Linked DNA regions of Homo sapiens: region 2 is linked to region 1. The links are contacts of gene promoters, found by promoter capture Hi-C in blood cells and fetal thymus (Javierre and others, 2016). All regions are on one chromosome and are shown on one strand. The core of a region is centred on a gene start or on the middle of the fragment in contact, and the rest is flanking DNA. Distances in the headings are between cores, read along the strand shown.

The links. The method cuts DNA at HindIII sites, captures the fragments that hold promoters and counts their contacts. A CHiCAGO score of 5 or more calls a contact.
Region 2: a fragment that was not itself captured here is called in contact with the fragment with the promoter of ARAP1-AS2 in region 1 in 5 of 17 cell types (megakaryocytes, M0 macrophages, M2 macrophages and 2 more); the score reaches 7.4 in megakaryocytes.

Annotation. Positions count from the first base shown.
Region 1 is chr11:72,698,114-72,702,174 of GRCh38, forward strand. It overlaps ARAP1-AS2 (ARAP1 antisense RNA 2), which reads left to right and starts at 2,361. Exons shown (of 2, transcript NR_146780.1): 1 at 2,361-2,440. It overlaps ARAP1 (ArfGAP with RhoGAP domain, ankyrin repeat and PH domain 1), which reads right to left. Exons shown (of 35, transcript NM_001040118.3): 16 at 3,536-3,670; 17 at 1,304-1,439; 18 at 892-994. RefSeq lists a silencer at 2,907-3,006. The HindIII fragment of the contact is 37,247 bases long and covers 1-4,061 here.
Region 2 is chr11:72,809,540-72,814,031 of GRCh38, forward strand. LOC107984421 (a long non-coding RNA gene) reads right to left here. Exons shown (of 3, transcript XR_007062771.1): 1 at 3,094-4,492. Among named protein-coding and RNA genes, the nearest start is that of ATG16L2, 2.6 kb to the right of the region's middle. RefSeq lists enhancers at 3,135-3,194, 3,355-3,484 and a silencer at 4,025-4,114. The HindIII fragment of the contact is 2,240 bases long and covers 1,243-3,482 here.

The DNA of each region.
Region 1 (4,061 bases), core at 1,111-3,610:
AGAGGCGCCGGGGGAGACAGCATCAGCCAACGGCACTGCCTGCCCCAATGCCCCAGCTCCTTGGCTTACAGGCACATGCCCTCTTCCCACCCAGCTGCCTTCTCTTCTCTTCCCCAAGGCAGAACCAAGCCCAGTGATGGAACTTGGGTACCATGCCCCACTTCATACCCACTCAGATGTGCCCGCCTCTGGAAAGCCTTCCCAGACACCTTCTGGAGGGCCCTTCTCTGGGCCCCCACAGCACCAAAGCATTCTTGCCCTCTGTTGTGGCACTGGTTACACTGCTGCTGCCGCCTGAACTACACCCGCAGGGGAGCTGTCTCCCCCACCCACATGGGTGCTACTGAAGAGCTAGGACTAAGCCTGGTTCATCTGGGTCCCAGGTCTCCGAGGGCTGACTCTCAGGAGGCGCACAAGACAACTGATCAACGGAGAAGTGAATGATAAAAAGTCACAGGCTCTCACAGCACAGGGGACCCCACAGGCACCTGGCTCTAGTCCCCGAGGCAGAGCTCTCCCGGTGGCCTCCCTGCCTCTTCCCTCCAGCCTCTGCTTGCTCGCCTCCAGGAACGAGGAGCACACCCCCTCTGGAGGCCGCACTGTCCATCCTAAGATGGCTCTGACTGTCATTCACTGTTAAACACTTATTGAGCACCTATGGAGTGCAAGGCCCACAGCCCTTCTTCTGCAGAGCTAGGATAGGTCTGACCAACTCCGCAGAGGGCTGCAGATTACAGTAGGCTCTTGGTGGGACAGGCCCGCTCCATGTCTGCTGCCCTGCATCTAGCTTCTGCTCTCTAGACGGGGGAGCTGGGATACATGGGATTGGCCAGGAGGCCCCACCTTCCCCAGTCAGACACCCTTACACCCACCCTGCTACCCCAGGCTCACCTTAGCAATACACTTGACCCACTCATGAGCCTGCTCCGCACTCTCCAGCCCAAACAGGTACAGCCGTTCTCCCTCCGTGTACACCTCAAAGGTGTGCTCAAAGCTGCAAATACACAGGCCAGGACTCAGGCCCACCTCATCCAGCACGGGCCCACCCCCAACCCGCACCATCAACCGCCATCCTCTGCCCCCTCCGCACTGCCTTGGCGCTTGTCCTTATTCTGGTCCCCTAAGAGGTGGTGGAAAAGTCTTGGGCTGGGGCCTCAAGAGACTGGAGTCGGCCCTTGTGCAGCCTCCGTTTGCTGTGTGACTCTGCGGAGGTCCTCCCCTTCTCTGGGTCTATTTCCCTGTCTCCCCAGTGGGGGATTGTACCTTATAGCAACCACAGTCTGATTTGCCCAGGAGTACTCACCCATGGGTGTCAGGAGGGGGCACTGCCAGGCACACAATCTCGCTGGCCCGAATCTCTCCATTGGGGGTCACTGCCCGCTCATTCTCAAAGTAGCTCAGGACCCCGTCACCAAGGACACACCAGCGCCGGCTGAACTCTGGGGAGAATTTGGGCAGGGGAGCCATCAGGGAGCCCCCCACCACCTGAAAACCACCTCTGCATCCTCCCGGGGCTCCTGCTCCCATCTGACCCATGAGCTCTTCATTCTCTCAAGTTTTCCCTAAATCCATCCACCTCTCTGCATCCCCACCACGCTAGCCAGCCCACAAGTCATCCGCTCCCCCAGGCCTCTGCAGCAGCCCCTTCCAAAATCCCAGAGTGATCTAGCTAAAATCAGACCCCATCCTTCCTCTAACCAAAACCATTCCATGGTCCTCAGGACAGACTCTGTGCCCCTCAGCCTGCCATTCAAGGCCCTGCCAGGTCTACCCCTGCCCGTCTCTCCAGCTGCCTCTCTGTCACTCCTGGACACACACATCCCTACCCAGCACTCCCAGCTTTTGCAAACCTTGTCCCCTCTACCCACCACCTGAATGTCACAGGAAGCCTTCTATGCCCCAACCTCCTTTTCCAGAAGCATCTATCACTCTGTACTCTGCCTCCTGCTACAATGGCTCTGAAGGACTGGCAAGGTCCCATAAAAGAAACAGAAATGGGAATCTGGACCAGGAAAGGTAATGGAAAGGATAGGCTGTCATGGCCATGCAGGCTTGTACCGTTCACAGCACTGAGCTTTACAGTGGCTCAGAGCTTCCTGGCATCCAGGGCAAAAAGGATGACTCAGGCAGTTGTTACATAAATGACATTGTCAGGCAGAGGGAGGCAGACCTGGGGCAATGAGGTTGTGAACAGCATGGAGTTCCAAAGAAATCTCTTTGGGAGTTGGAGGGCTTTGTCCCCGTAGGAAAGCATGCAGGAGGTGCTGAGGGATGTTGTCAGCAATGACCTCACAATGTTCCCACAGCAGACTCTGTCTCTCATCCTGTCTGTGAGGGCCTGACATGTGCTCTTTGAGAGCAATGTGTCCTCAGGCCTGTCCCCGCAGGTGGGCTCCCTCCAGGAGCACCAGCTCTGCCTGAGTCATCCTTCATTCTGCAGGTATTTGCCAAGTGCCCACTGTGTGCTAGCCACTGTTCTAGGATCTGGGGGCTACAGGCAGTGGTGGCCAAAAGGAGTTTATGTCCCAGTGGGGTACAGAGAATCTATAGATAAGTACATTAATGGACAAATGAGTACCAGGTAAGTGGTGTGAAGAAAATGCAGGGTAGCCAGGCGTGGTGACTCACGCCTGTAATCCCAGTACTTTGGGAGGCCAAGGCGGGCAGATCACCTGAGGTCGGGAGTTTGAGACCAACCTGACCAACATGGTGAAACCCCATCTCTACTAACTAAATTAGCCAGGCATGATGGCGCATGCCTGTAATCCCAGCTACTCGGGAGGCTGAGGCAGGAGAATTGCTTGAACCCGGGAGGCAGAGGTTGCGGTGAGCCAAGATCGCGCCATTGCACTCCAGCCTGGGCAACAAGAGCGAAACTCCATCTCAAAAGGGTAAAGGGAGAGATGGGGGGTGCTATTTTGCATAAGGTAGTCAGAGATGACATCTCTGCAGGAGTGATACTGAAACAGAGACCTGACGGAAGTGAGGGACTGGCCATGCAGATACCTGGGGGAATGCATTTCAGGCAGAGGGAACAGCACAGGCAAAGATCCTGGTAGGTGACGACGTGTCTGAGAAACAGTGAGGAGACCGGCAGAGTGATTAGGGGGGTGGTTCAGAGAGGTAATGGGGGTGGTGGCCAACTGTGCGGGCTCTTGTGGATTTTCTTCTGAGTTGGGGAGTGAATGGAAGGCTGAGATCAGATGGATAGGGCTTTCGTTCAGTCCTCAAACTCCCTACCAGCCACAGGCTCTTACTACCAGATGCTCAGCAGAGCCCATATCCAGTAGGGGCTCAATAAAGGCTCATTTAGTCCAAAGAAACTCTGGCACTGACCTGCTCTGCAGTGTCATGCACTACCCCCACTCCCACCAGGATCATTTAGGAAGTACCTACTGTGTACCACAGACTATATCCAGGAAGCCCTCTAGGGTGACTCTGCCAGAGTCCACCAGTCTGGCCAGCCCTGGCTTCCCTAGCCCTGCAGCCGTGACCAGATGCCATGGGCTAAAGCAGAGTCTGGGGTGGCACCCACCTTCCCGGGCCCGGCGGTCCTGTAGCAGCTTGCCGGCAGAGGCAGTCTTGTAGAGGAAGCCACTGTGGCTCACGGTCGGCAGGACAACTGAGTAGTGCTTTTCCAGGGGCTTCATCGAGTCCAGCCGAGGCACCTCTTTGTAGGCGGGGAAAGGATGGCAGGTCATGCTGGCCACCCAAGAGGGTGTCCCCACCTCACTCCCACCTGGCCTGGGCATTCAGGCTCACTTTCGAATCATCAGCCCCAGCTCCCTAACTGGCAGCCTCAAGCTCCCCCTCCTACCTGCAGGGTCTTGTCCAGGCTGTTTCTCCACCTCTCCCCACTTGTGGAAATTCACTCCACTCCCAAGGCCCAGTTCCAGCACCTCCCCTTCCAGGAAGCCTCCCTGATTCCTGCCCCACCCCACTCTCCAGGTTGGAGGCATAGGCCAGGCACACTGGCATGAGGGGGGCATTGGGCAAACTCAATAATAATCCCTGGAAAGAGGATTGTCCCAGACAGCGGGAAGCTCAAGGTGGCAGCCTGA
Region 2 (4,492 bases), core at 1,113-3,612, 110 kb after region 1:
GAATCACCAGTTGAGTTCAGCCAACAGTCATGGGCAATATTAGAAATCACTGTACTGCCAGGTGCGGTGGCTCACGCCTGTAATCCTAGCACTTTGGGAGGCTGAGGCGAGCAGATTGCCTGAGCTCAGGAGTTTGAGACCAGCCTGGGCAACGTGGTGAAACCCTGTCTCTACTAAAATACAAAAAATTAGCCAGGTGTGGCAGCGTGTGCCTGTAGTCCCAGCTACTCGGGAGGCTGAGGCAGGAGAATTGCTTGAATCTGGGAGGCGGAGGTTGCAGTGAGCCCAGATTGCCAAGATCATGCCACTGCACTCCAGACTGGGAGACAGAGCGAGACTCCATCTCTGGAAGAAAAAAAAAAAAAAAGAAATCACTGTAACCACAGACCAGCCTGTCCTATCCTGATCAATATGAAGGTGTGAGGCAAACAGGCTCACTTTTGTACTATTTCAATTCTTTGCTATGTGCATGTGATTGGTTTTCCAATTTAAAAAATAGCTACTTTTTTTTTTTTTAAACTGAGTCTTGCTCTTTCGCCCAGGCTGGAGTGCAATGGCACGATCTCAGCTCACTGCCACTTCTGCCTCCCAGGTTCAAGTGATTCTCCCCGCTCAGCCTCCCAAGCAGCTAGGATTATAGGCACCTGCCACCACTCCCGGCTAATTTTTGTATTTTTAGTAGAGACGTGGTTTCACTATGTCGGCCAGGCTGGTCTCGAACTCCTGACTTCAGGTGATCCACCGCCTCGGACTCCCAAAGTGCTGGGATTACAGGCGTGAGCCACTATACCCAGCCAAAAAATAGCTACATTTTTTATTTCAAAACTTCTAAGCACTGGACCATGCAAACTTTGGTTTTTTCTTTTTGATACACAGCAACAGCAATTTATTTACGGATTACCTACTCAGTTGGTGCCAAGCCTGGTTCTAGATGCTGAAGACAGAGCCTAGATCAAGATTGACTTGGTCCTGGCTTTCCTGAAGTTCCCAGCCTGGTAGAAGAGACATAATAAACAACTAGCAAACACAGAAATGTGATTCTTTCTGGGAGTATTAGGTGCTCTGAAAGGAAGAACAAGGGTGATGTGATAGACGCTGATTGGGATGGGAGCTTTTTCAGATTGGATGACAGGAAAGGTCTTCTGAAATCTGCCTGGTATGTAGGAGCTAGCCTCTAAAAGTTGTGGAGGAAGAGCACTAGGAGAGGGGTGCAGCCAGGGCAAAGCCTCCAAGGTGGGGCTAAGCTTGGCAGTGGGATTTCAGTGCAGTGAATAAGGCTAAAGAGTAGGAAGAGGTAAGATCAGTGATGTGGGCAGGGGCCAGATCAAGCAGGGCCTTGAAGGCCATGGTAAAGGGTTTGGTATTTGCTTTGACTATGCTGGAGAGCCTTTCAAGGGTTTTAAGCAAGAGGAACTTGAGATGACTTAAGATTTTTGTTTTTGTTTTTGAGACAGTCTTGTTCTGTTGCTCAGGCTGGAGTGCAGTGGCGCAATCTTGGCTCACTGAAACCTCTGCTTCCTGGGTTCAAGTGATTCTCCTGCCTCAGCCTCCCAAGTAGCTGGGATTACAGGCGTGCGCCACCATGCCTGGATAATTTTTGTATTTTTAGTAGAGACGGGGTTTCTCCATGTTGGTCAGGCTGGTCTCAAAGTCCCGACCTCAGGTGATCTGCCCACCGTGGCCTCCCAAAGTGCTGGGATTACAGGTGTGAGACACCGTGCCTGGCCTGATTTAAGTTTTTGAACAATCACTCTGGCTTCTGGGAGATGCCTAACCCAGGTGCACTTTTTTTTTTTTTTTTTTTTTTTTTTTTGAGATGGAGTCTCGCTCTGTCACCAGGCTGGAGTGCAGTGGTGCGATCTCAGCTCATTGCAACCTCTGCCTCCCGGATTCAAGCAATTCTCTGCCTTAGCCTCCTGAGTAGTTGGGATTACAGACGCCCACCACCAAGCCTGGCTTTTTTTTGGGTATTTTTAGTAGAGATGGGGTTTCACTATGCTGGCCAGGCTGGTCTTGAACTCCTGACCTTGTGATCCACCTGCCTTGGCCTCCCAAAGTGCTGGGATTACAGGTGTGAGCCACCGTGTCTGGCCTCCCAGGTGCAAATTTTAAATTACATTTTAAGTACTTTAGGGCCAGGTGCAGTAGCTCATGCCTGTAATGCTAGCACTTGGGATGCCAAGGCAGGAGGATTGCTTGAGCCCAGGAATTAGAGACCAGCCTGGGCAACATAGTGAGACCTTGTCTTTACAAGAAAAATTTAAAATGAGCTGGGCGGCTGGGCACGGTGACTCACACCTGTAGTCCCAGCACTTTGGGAGGCTTGAGGCGGGTGGATCACTTGAGGTCAGGAGCTGGAGATCAGCCTGGCCAACATGGTGAAACCCTGTCTCTACTAAAAGTACAAAAATTAGCTGGGTGTGGTGACGCATGCCTGTAATCCCACCTATTCGGAAGGCGGATGCATGAGAATCGCTTGAACCCGGGAGGAGGCGGTTGCAATGAACCGAGATTGTGCCACTGCACTCCAGCCTGGGTAACAGAGACTCTGTCTCAAAAAACAAAACAAAACAAAACAACAACAAAACCAGCGATAGTGGCATGTGCCTGTAGTCTCAGCTACTCGGGAGACTGAGGTGGAAGAATCATTTAATCCCAGGAGGATGAGGCTGCAGTGAGCCATGATTGGGCCACTGCACTCCAGCCTGGGCAACAGAGAGAGACCCTGTCTCAAAAACAAAACAGAACAAAAAAAGTGAAGTACTTTAGGTCCCCAGATTATGGTATAACATTTTTTTATATTTATTGGTCAAATCATATATCTCTTACATAAATAATTTGAGATACATTAAACAGCAAGTTAAATGTAAAAAGCAGAAATTTGTCTCCATATATTATCTAAAATTTTATTTCAAGTGATCTTTATAATACAATCTTTCATATTCTAAAAATAGAACATGAATATTTTTAGTCAAAATCAATCACTTCTTTATCATATACTACTCAAAAATGACTATTTATTTAACATTTCCTAGGTGTATTTTGTGAGTCAAAAAAGGATTAGGAAACCCCTGCCCCAATATGGCTCCTTACCTGAGAGAAACGGCATCTCTGCACCTCACAGCCAGGCCAAGCCCTGTTAATATACTCTCCCATGCACACAGCCAGAGTTCCTTATTTATATAGTGTCTCCAAGCACCCAAGAGTCCGCCAGTTCTAAAGGGAATTCATCACTGTCATCAGCTGGCCCTGGGTCTCCATGGGTACTGTGCCTGTCTCCTGGGCATGGCTTTTGCTGAACGTTACCACCCATCTTCAACACAAATACTCCTTCAAGAGACAGGTCAGGCCTGGTTTGGGGCTAGAGGTACAGAGACATCTAGGACCCAGGTCCTGCCCTAAGGGGCACCGCACAGATTACAGGATGGTGTGATAACTGGTGACGGTTATAACTCGAACTCAACTGGGGCTGGTGTCTGAGAAGCTTGAACTCAGTGTAGGGGCAGGAAAGTTCTCCTGGAGGAGGTGATGCATGATTAGGAGCCAGGCCCCCTAGAGGCGACGATGTTCCAAACATCAGGCTCGGCCTGTGCAAAGGCCATGGGCGTCTAAGACAATGACATGTGGGGGACTGAGCCCAGCTCACTGGAAGCAGAGCAGGCTACACTGACCTGGGGGCGTCTAGGCCTTCACTGCTTTCTACGTCCTCTGACCCATCCCCATCAGAATCTCAACAGACTCGTCACCTCCAGGGCCTGCACTGCTCTCCCATCGTTGCCCAACTTCTCTCGTTCCCTAGGGATGTTCAAGTCTGCCAACACTCAGAGGGCAGGGCCTGCTGGCATGCCCCAGGGTGAGGCTGTGCCCAGCGAGTCCCTCCTTTCGTGTCTCACAGTAGCCTGAGCCTGCAGAGCTGGCTCTCTAGCATCTAGCTAGAGACGGTTTGACCACAGTTCCCTGCGACCCATGATTCACTTTCGAGGGTACCCACAAGAGATGTGTCTGCTCCTCCAGACGCCGCCCAATGGGGTGAAGCGTCTGGCCCTGAGTCAGGATGCTGGGGTGCTGGCCGTCTCAGCTACCCACTCCTTTGCAACCCCAGGCAAGCAAGCTCGTTCTCTCCTCCCGGCCAGGGGCTTTCTAGATGAAATCAGCTGCACCCCTTTACTCTCAGGGACCTAAAATTTCGGCGACCATGTGGAGCCGTAAACCCTTCTGCCTCCTGTCCTCCCAGCCCCGCACCCACCTGGCGTTTTCGTGTCACGGAACCTCTGCACGTGCTCTTCTCGAGGCCTAGAGTCCCTCTCTCCCTCTGGCCAACTCCTATTTCATCCCTCACAGACCCAACTCGAACGCCATCATCCCCGGAAAGCGGGGATTCCTCCCTTCAGTCTCTGCTTCCTTATCTTGCTGTCCTGCTGCGCCGCGCCCTCAGTGTACGCGCAGAGCCCGGGGCTGAGGGCCTCTGGGTCCCTGGCTGGGTGCGCGGCCA